Regions from separate parts of the Homo sapiens genome. Here regions 1 and 2 are each linked to region 3. Evidence: promoter capture Hi-C in 16 types of primary human blood cells and fetal thymus (Javierre and others, 2016). All regions are on one chromosome and are shown on one strand. Each heading gives the region's core, a stretch centred on a gene start or on the middle of the fragment in contact. The rest is flanking DNA. Distances are from core to core; before and after follow the strand shown.

Region 1 (3,217 bases), core at 266-2,765, 41 kb before region 3:
TTGTCTCAAAAAAATAGAAATAAATAAATTAATTAATAAATAATTGGTGCAGCCTCTCCAAATTTGTGCAGCCTCTACGGAGAGTGTTAGTCAGACTGGGTGGCTTAAACAACAGATATTTATGTTTTCACCCTTCTGTAGGATGGAAGTTCAAGATCAGGGCCTTTAGGCTTGGTGTCTGGTGAAGGCTCTCTTCCTCACATGCCCTCTTCCCTGTGTCCACGCGGAAAGAGAAAGATCTCTGGTGTCTTTTCCTTTTCGTCTTCTTATAAGGACATCATTCCTATTGGATTGAAGCCCATTCTTATGACCCCACTTCACCTTTATTACCTTCTTATAGGTCCCATCTCCAAATACAGTCACATTGGGGGTTAGGGCTTCAACATATGAATTTTTGGGGAGGACACAATTCAGTCCAGAACAAAGGGAAATTAAGTGGTTTCTACCAAAACTTTAAATGTCTATACTTTTTGCTGCTCTGCCTATGGATTAGCCATTCTTTATTCCTTTACTTTCTTAATAAACTTGCTCTCACTTAAAAAAAAAAAAGTCTATACTTTTGATTCAGCCATTCTACTTCTAGGTATTTATCATACAAATGATCAAACAGGTGTAAAATGAAATTTATACAAGTATATTCAAGGCATTGATATTTATAATAGCCAAATACTAGAAACTACCTAAACATCCATGCATAAGGTATTAGGTAGATAAATTATGGAACATGCATTCAATAAAATACATAAAGGTGAAAAAGAATGAAGTAGCTCTATATAAAAGGATGTGGAACAATCTCCAAGCTTGATTTGTATGTTTGTTTATTTGTTTTGAGACAGGGTCTTGCTCTGTCACCCAGGCTGGAGTGCAGTGGTGCAATCATGGCTCACTGCAGCCTCAACCCCTGGGCTCAAGTGATCCTCCCACTTCAGCCTCCAGAGTAGCTGGGACTACAGGCATGTGCCACTACATCTGGCTAATTTTTATTTTTTGTAGAGATGGGGTCCCACTATGTTTCCCAGGCTGGTCTTGAACTCCGGTGCTCAAGTGATCCCCCAGCCTTGGCCTCCCAAAGTGTTGGGATCACAGGCATGAGCCACCGCGCCCAGTCCAAGCTGTATTGTTAAGTGGAATAAGCAAGGTAGAGAACAATGTGAATAGTATACTATCTTTGTGTAAAGGGTATGTGTGCGTGGGGAGAATATATATGAATTTGCTTGTGTTTATATAGACTATTTCTAGAAAATTATTGCTTCTAGATAGAGACATCAGTGCCTAGGCACAAGGCTTTTTTCTATATACCCTTTGTATCTTTGTGCCATGAACTTGTATTTATGTGTTAATATTTTTAAAGTAACAAAAACTTTTAGGGGAAAGAAAAGTCTGGCTGAAAGAACTATTTTCACCACAGAGGGCCCCTTACCTAGGAGAGCAATGGGGAGGTTGTGGGCTGGTCTCCCTTTGGGGAATGTGTTCTCCTTCTGGTTCTAGCAAAGAGAATCTTCTCTTTCCCGGTACAGTTCCCATGAGAGCTTCACAGAGATCCAGTCTCTGGCAGTATTTCAGTCGGGGCACTTTCTGAGGTACCGTTAGGAACTGTTAGGAACCGCGTTAGATACTGGTGGTACAGCAGTAAAGCTCTATAGACGCGTCTCTGCCACCAAGGAGCTTCTATTCCAGCAGGGGGAGACAAACAATACTAAGTGCGTACACCATTAGCTATTTCTCTGTCAAGTGTGCCAAATGCTGTAAAAAAGAAGTTTGAGTGCTCTTGGACCCAGGTGTGGACGGTCAGGGTAGGCTTCTCTCAGAAGGTGATATTTAAGGGAGGATAAATAGGAGTTAGCTAGCTAATAGTGTGTCCGGAATTGGTGGGTACTTGGTCTCACTGACTTCAAGAATGAAGCCGCCGACCCTCGCAGTGAGTGTTACAGTTCTTAAAGGCCGCGTGTCCGGAGTTTGTTCCTTCTCATGTTCTGATGTGTTCGGAGTTTGTTCCTTCTGGTGGGTTCGTGGTCTCGCTGGCTCAGGAGTGAAGCTGCAGACCTTCGCGGTGAGTGTTACAGCTCTTAAGGGGGCGCGTCTGGAGTTATTCGTTCTTCCTGGTGGGTTCGTGGTTTCGGGGGCTTCAGCAGTGAAGCTGTACACCTTCGCGGTGAGTGTTACAGCTCATAAAGGCAGTGTGGACCCAAACAGTGAGCAGAAGCAAGAGTTACTGCAAAGAGGTAAAGAACAAAGCTTCCACAACACAGAAGCAGACCCGAAGGGGTTGCCACTGCTGTCTAGGGCAGCCTGCTTTTATTCTCTTATCTGGCCCCACCCACATCCTGCTGATTTGTCCATTTTACAGAGAGCCGATTGGTCTGTTTTACAGAGAGCTGATTGGTCCGTTTTGACAGGGTGCTGATTGGTGCGTTTACAATCCCTGAGCTGGACACAAAAGTTCTCCAGGTACCCACTAGATTAGCTAGATACAGAGTGTTGATTGGTGTATTTACAAACCATGAGCTAGACATAAAGGTTCTCCAAGTCCCCACCAGACTCAGGAGCGCAGCTGGCTTCACCCAGTGGATCCCGCACTGGGGCCGCAGGTGGAGCTGCCTGCCTGTCCTGCGCTGTGGGCCCGCTTTCCTCAGCCCTTTGGCGGTCGATGGGACCGGGCGCCGTGGAGCAGAGGGCGGCGCTCCTTGGGGAGGCTCAGGCATGGCGGGCTGCAGGTCCCGAGCCCTGCCCTGCGGGGAGGCAGCTAAGGCCCGGGAGGAATCGAGAGCAGCACCGGTAGGCCGGCAGTGCTGAGGGACCCGGCGCACGCTCCGCAGCTGCTGGCCCGGGTGCTAAGCCCCTCACTGCCCGGGCCGGCAGGGCTGGCCAGCCGCTCCGAGTACGGGCCCGCCAAACCCACGCCCACCGGGAACTCTAGCTGGCCCGCAAGCGCCGCGCGCAGCCCCGGTTCCCGCCCGTGCCTCTCCCTCCACACCTCCCCGCAAGCTGAGGGAGCCGGCTCCGGCCTGGACCAGCCCAGAGAAAGGCTCCCACAGTGCAGCGGCGAGCTGAAGGGCTCCTCAAGCGCGGCCAGAATGGGCGCCGAGAACGAGGAGGCACCGAGAGCGAGCGAGGGCTGCCAGGGCTGCCAGCAAGCTGTCACCTCTCAACAGGACAAGGGTTGGCGTGAGAGGAGAGAAAACAGCACGTGCACAGGCGCTAAGGCAGGAGGCATCTG
Region 2 (2,871 bases), core at 219-2,718, 61 kb before region 3:
CAACCAAATCCATCCTTTTTCTCCCCAAACTTGCTCCTCCCCATTTTTCCTATTCTAGTGACTCACCCAAACCAGAAGCACCCACCACACACATATACACATTCACACATTCACAAGCCCCATCTATCTCAACTCCTTAATATGTTTTAACTCTAAGTGCTGCTAGCTTAGTTTGGCCTTGATTTCTTGACTTGATGATTTACACAACCTTCTCATCTTCAATCCAGTGGTTCTCAAGACTGGATGCATGTTAGAATCAAGTGGGGAGCTTTACAAAACAATCCCAATGCCAGGCCACACCCCAAATCAGTTACATCAGACTCTGGCGATGAAGCCCAGACATCAGTATTTTTAAAAGTTCCCCAGATGATCGGAGTCTCTGAACCTACTCTGGCTCAGAAGGCTGCCCCCTCCGCCCCCCCCCCAAAAAAAAGTTCCCAAGATGACTCAATGTGCAGCTAAGGTTAAGAAGCACTCTTCTTATATGACCCCTTCCATTCCATTCTGCCAAAAGTTCTTTCTTGTTAAAATGAATTTCTGATTCCATTGACTACCCTGGTTGAAACCTTCCACCAGTTTTCCATTACCCAGAGAACAAAACTCAAACTCCTTAGCAAGAGAGACAAGACCCTGTGTCACCTGGGCCCTGTCCAGTTCTCACGCCACTCTCCCAACTCCACTCCTCCCATGCTTGGAAAGGGAAGAGTGATACAGAGACTGGAGGTGAGGTGACCGGTTAGAAGGCTGTTGCAATGCTGTAGACAAGCTCTCGTCAACTGATTCTCACACTTGTCTGCACATCGGAATTACTTCAGTTTTTAAAAATTCTGATGTGTTCCACCATGGAGTTTTTGTTTTTTTTCTTTTTGAGACGGAGTGTCACTGTGTCACCCAGGCTGGAGTGCAGTGGCATGATCTTGGCTCACTGCAACCTCTGCCTCCTGGGTTCAAGCGATTCTCCTGCCTCAGTCTCCCCAGTAGCTGGGATTACAGTTGTGTGCCACCAAGCCTGGCTAATTTTTGTATTTTTAGTAGAGTCGGGGTTTCACCATGTTGCCCAGGCTGATCTTGAACTCCTGACCTCAGGTGATCTGTCCACTTTGGCCTCCCAAAGTGCTGGGATTACAGGCATGAGCCACTGCGTCCAGCCCACCATAGAATCTGTCATTTAATTGGCCTGAGATGCAGGCTGAGCATCAAACTTCCCCCAGGTGATTCTAATGTGCAGCAAAATTTAAAAACAATTGTTCTGGTTCAGGGAATCTTAACTGTAGAATAACACAGGGTGTTAAAAAAAGAAAAAAACAATACCTGGACCCCATCTCAGACCAATTAAGAAAGAACCTCAGGGATGAGCAGGGCCCTTTGCACACGTTGCTCCTTCCGTCTGGAATGCCAAGACTTACTTTTCTGGCCATTACTCTCCTACTCATCCTTCCAGATTCCATGCAGTACAATTTATTTGGGGGCAGCTTATTCCAGCCTGGGGGGAGGTGCTCTCCTGCCACTGTACTCTGTTAAACTCAGCAAACACTTCTCACACTGCTACGAAGGGTCTGTTTACTTATCTGACTGCAGTTGGCATCGTGTTTTTTTCCTGCTTCAGGCCCAATAAATATGTGTTGAATGAATGAATGAGAGAGAACATGAGAGTGAGCAGCAGGGGCTCAAAGCCATCTCTAGAGACTGCAGGGGGTGCCCTGTGGCTGCTGCCTGCCCAAGGCAGGGGCCATGTGTGTGTGTGTGTCGGGGGGTGTCTGGTGGGGCCATAGAGCATTACCCAGGTTGGCACTGAGCGTGAGGTGCAGCTTCTTCCTCCAGAGCTTGGCAGCAAGGACACCGTTGTAGTGTACAGCCTGGACCCCAATTGCCAGCTGCACTGCCTTCTCCTGCTCACTGTGATTAACCAGCGTCACTGAGATCTGGGCATCCCCTCTCAGGGGTAGGGAGCTGGGTGCTTTCAAGAGCAGGTACAGAGGACTGGCAGTCTCGAGACTGGGAGGACGGATGCCGTTGTCTTTCTCACGTTCCATTTTCTCTTTCTCGACTCTCTCCAGCACCTCTTTTTCCTGAAGAGACCCTGGAGAAGGGAAGAAACAAAGCTGACCTTTTACCCGGGTGGTATAAATGCTTCTAATAAAACCCTGGGAATCAAAACCATTTACCCACTTCTGCTCAAATGCCAAAGTCACAAGAACTCAGCAAGCCTCTAAGGCCATATTTAGCCCAAAAATGTCTGTGTCAGGCAGCTCCACCACCGATACAGTGTGTCTCTTCCAAACCACTCAAGGACCAAGTTCTTTTTCAAGTGCTATGAATTCTCCCCTTGAATGATGAGAGAGCAAGGTTGGGGACAAGTCAACACTGTCTCTGAGGACAGTTTTGCAGGGAACTGAATTTTCCTATGTGAAAGAATTTAGACTTCCTCTGAGGGTCAGGAATGCTGCTAAATGTCCTAGGGTGCACAGCCTGTACAACAAAGACATATCTGGGCCCAAATGTCAATGGTGTCAAATGGGGTTGAGAAACCCTGTTTTATATGATGCGGAAAGGACAAGTCTCTTTCTGGCTGCATCTACCAGGCCCATCCCTTTCCCTCGCTTGCCGTTTCAGGTACCGAGAAGCCTGGGGCCCTTCCCTGGCCCGTACCTTCAGGATACTTGTAGTTCTGAGTGATGTCCTCGCAGCGGTCACTGCCCACACCCTTGGTGCTGATGTTGTTGCCAACATACTTTGTGTTGGAGTCAGTCAACTCCAGTGTCCCATCCTCACAGCACTTCCAGACCACACATGAGGCATTTATGGCAGCAAAAAGGTCTGACACTGCTGGGGTCAGCCCCAGCGTCCCCTCCTTGACTGCTCTGACCGGCA
Region 3 (3,133 bases), core at 44-2,543:
AGATGATCAGGAAATAAACAGAAGACTGTAGAAAGAACTTTTAAAGTAAGTGATCTTAGTAGTTATCCTAGAGAGACACTCCCACGTGAGCACACAGAGGCATGGATAAGTATGTTCCTTGCAATATTGCTTGTGTAACCGGAAAATTGAAAACAACCTAAATGCCCATCAATAGGGGACAGGATTAGAAATTACTTGCACTGATACTATGAGAAATATTGAGGTAGATCTATAGGTACTGACTGGCATGGACAGAGCTCCCAGACATACTGTGGAGTGAAAAAAATCAAGTTGTAGAAATATACATACAATATGATGATACCATGGATATACCAAAAAAGACCACACATGCTAATCCTATGTATTACATTGAGTAAATGTATGTCTGAGTGTAAATGTGCAGACAAAAGACAGGTAACAGTGTTTACTCTGGAGATGAGGCTGCCATTGGGGATGGCGGGCAGAGGACTATAGCTTTATCTATAATTATTTATTTATTTTACTCCAACTATGTATTCCCATATTTCTTGTGCAATTAAAAGTTATGAAAATTTTAAAACAAAAATTTAAACACAAAAAGTAATAAATAAAGGTAAGGTTGTTACAGTTGTAGAGGAAGTTGAAAGCTTATTCCTCTAAATGATTTCAACTAACGATTTAATCTTCACAGCAACTCTTTCCAGAGTGAGGGGGATGATATAGAGAGAAGGTTGGTGATGGGAAGATTAGCTAAGATCAGTAATAGACCTTCTGAAATGGAGGAAGAAGAGAAGATATGAAGATTCAGAGAACTTAAGAGCTGGAAGACAATTTCAAGATTGTCTGGTCCAATCCCTCCTTTTTCAGGCAAGGGGGTTGGAAACTAGAGGCGAAGTGACTTGTCCAATGTCAAAGGGTCAGCTAGTAGCAGAGAAGGACAGAAACCCTGACCCCCTCATCTCTGGCCCTGCCCTGTCCCACCTGGCTATGGAGGCAGGCATGTTAGCAAGCAGCTGTGTGCTGTGTTTACCTGTCTGCCTCTACGCTGTCTCCTGGTTCTCAAGCCACCAATGAATACTGAGGTTTCTGGGATTCTTGCTTTTCCTGCCTCAGTTCTGTATTTACTTCTTTATTTCTCTGAATCCACCCTCCACCCCTTGACTTCCTACAGTCTCTCTCTGTCCTTCTTATCCCTGAACTCCAGTGGCCACAGGGGCTTTCCCTACCTTGGGCCATGGTAGCTGCCTCCGGTTCCTGGGATGCTCCCCACAGAACAGCTGGGCGGTCTGGAGCTTCAGCAAACTGGTGCCAGAGTGTCTACTTCCCCTTCCATTGGAAGCCTCCAGGAGAACCGAAGGCGGGGCTGGACTGCTGCACTGCCACCTGATTACCGAGCAGATCACAACTGGTTTGCTCACTTGCCCTCAGGTTTTTCTTGGCAGTGTTGCTGAATTGAAAGGAGGTGTGGAGGCTGATGAACTGTCACAGCCTTATGCCGTGTGGGCCTTTGATAGCTCTTGAGCAATAGGGCATTCCCAGGGAGGTGCTGTGCTGTGGTGGAGAAGTCAGGAGGGAGAAGCGAGCTGATGGGCCCGCCAGAGGGATGCAGGGGGCTGCTGGAAGGAGCATCAGGGTCCCAAGACTCTGCTCACAGCTTAAAGCACCTCATTGAGCCGAGAACCCTGCTAGGTAACCAAGGCCTCTCTTTTATCCTGAAAAGTCACTTCCTGAACATTAAATGCAAACAGAACCCTCTCTGTCTGGATCTCCTTCGGTATGATTTCACTGTATTTAGCTTTGGCAGTGGCATTGTCTTGCATGAGACCTGGCAGGTCCAAGACAAATCACAAATAAAAGCAAATAATCACAAATAAAATAGAGGAAGAAAAATTGGGAAGATTTGTGGAGGAGGTGTGGAAATAGGTGAGAGGGTGGGAATGCCGGTGAGCAAGGGCCTTGATCCTAGTAAGAAAGGCACAAGCCCTTTCATAGGGAGAAAAGCGCAGGTGGAAGGAGAGAGAGGGCAGGAGGGGGAAGGGCTCTGCCTGTGGAGTGGGTGGGACCCCCATGCCTACCCTGTCTTTCTGTGCTCTGGGGCACTTCTCCCCACATCCCCTGCTTTCTGGGTCCTTCTCCCTGGGGAACCTCTTTCACCAGCATTGTCCTCCCTCCTGTATTTTCAATTCTCTCTGTCCCCACTCAGCTCTTTTTTAAAACCTATGTAATTATTTTTATTTTTAATGTCCAGAATGTGTACTATAAGGGCCAGGGCTTCTTCCTGGACTTAATTTTATAAATTCTTGATTGGTTGGTGAGACCAATAGCGATACTTTTTCTTGTCTAATTTGGTTTCCGGGAAAGCTTCGTTCAAGTCGTCAATGGTCATCTGATCAAATGGTATTAAGTTCCTCATCTTCTCCAGCTGTTTCTCATATTCTCCAACCTGGCCTTTGAGAGAGACACCCACTCAGCACAAGTTTTCCCATCTTCTTTTTCTTCAGCATCCACCTGGGCAGTATATTTATCCTCTGGTACAGGAAGCTTCAGGACATTAAACTTCTTCTCAAAGTCATCCACCAAGCCTGCCTTGGCCACATTGGCCTTGTAGTAAGTCCAGTCAATAGCTGGTGGATTCTCAGGTAAAGTAGCCAGCCTGGAGGTGAGGGTCTCATTCCAGGATTTCAGATAATTAGCAATGGCCTTTTGGTTTTGGGGTATCATCTCTGCAAAAGCTACCCAGTCAATGGTTTTTAGAGCAAGTTTTCACCCAGCCATCTTGGTATACTTCACTGACCATGGCAGCCCATGGCCCACACCCCACTCACCTCTTATAGGGTATATGTGCACAAATGCAGTTCACTATTTTAACACAGCACATCCACCTTCAACTCTCATCCCCAGCTTCCCTAGCAGCCCCTGCCCTTTCTCTCAACTCCACTTCTCAGCCAAGCTCCTTGCCCACTGCTTTGCCTCCCACCACCCCTCACCTGCTGCAGACTGCCTTCTGTCCCACGGCTGCCTCGACGCCACGCTCACCTCCCAGCTCTGAGGGCTGGGCTCTGGGCGCCTTTCCTGCTCTTACCCTGCAAGGCCTCCTGCAGCCCTGCGGGTACTGTCCACTCCTCCTGGGCTTAGGTGACTTCTCTCTCTTGGT

Evidence for each region. The method cuts DNA at HindIII sites, captures the fragments that hold promoters and counts their contacts. A CHiCAGO score of 5 or more calls a contact.
Region 1: a contact is called between a fragment that was not itself captured here and the fragment with the promoter of TGM5 in region 3, in 1 of 17 cell types (megakaryocytes). The highest score is 19.2, in megakaryocytes.
Region 2: a fragment that was not itself captured here is called in contact with the fragment with the promoter of TGM5 in region 3 in 2 of 17 cell types (megakaryocytes and erythroblasts); the score reaches 8.9 in megakaryocytes.

Annotation. Positions count from the first base shown.
Region 1 is chr15:43,223,966-43,227,182 of GRCh38, forward strand. It overlaps a transcript of EPB42 not described here. Among named protein-coding and RNA genes, the nearest start is that of EPB42, 4.6 kb to the left of the region's middle. The HindIII fragment of the contact is 1,435 bases long and covers 799-2,233 here.
Region 2 is chr15:43,204,550-43,207,420 of GRCh38, forward strand. EPB42 (erythrocyte membrane protein band 4.2) reads right to left here. Exons shown (of 13, transcript NM_001114134.2): 9 at 2,650-2,871; 10 at 1,781-2,080. Among named protein-coding and RNA genes, the nearest start is that of EPB42, 15 kb to the right of the region's middle. RefSeq lists a silencer at 1-36. The HindIII fragment of the contact is 3,657 bases long and covers 1-2,871 here.
Region 3 is chr15:43,265,635-43,268,767 of GRCh38, forward strand. TGM5 (transglutaminase 5) reads right to left here and starts at 1,294. Exons shown (of 13, transcript NM_201631.4): 1 at 1,206-1,294. The coding sequence starts at 1,215. It also overlaps the pseudogene ATP5PDP1. The HindIII fragment of the contact is 1,714 bases long and covers 625-2,338 here.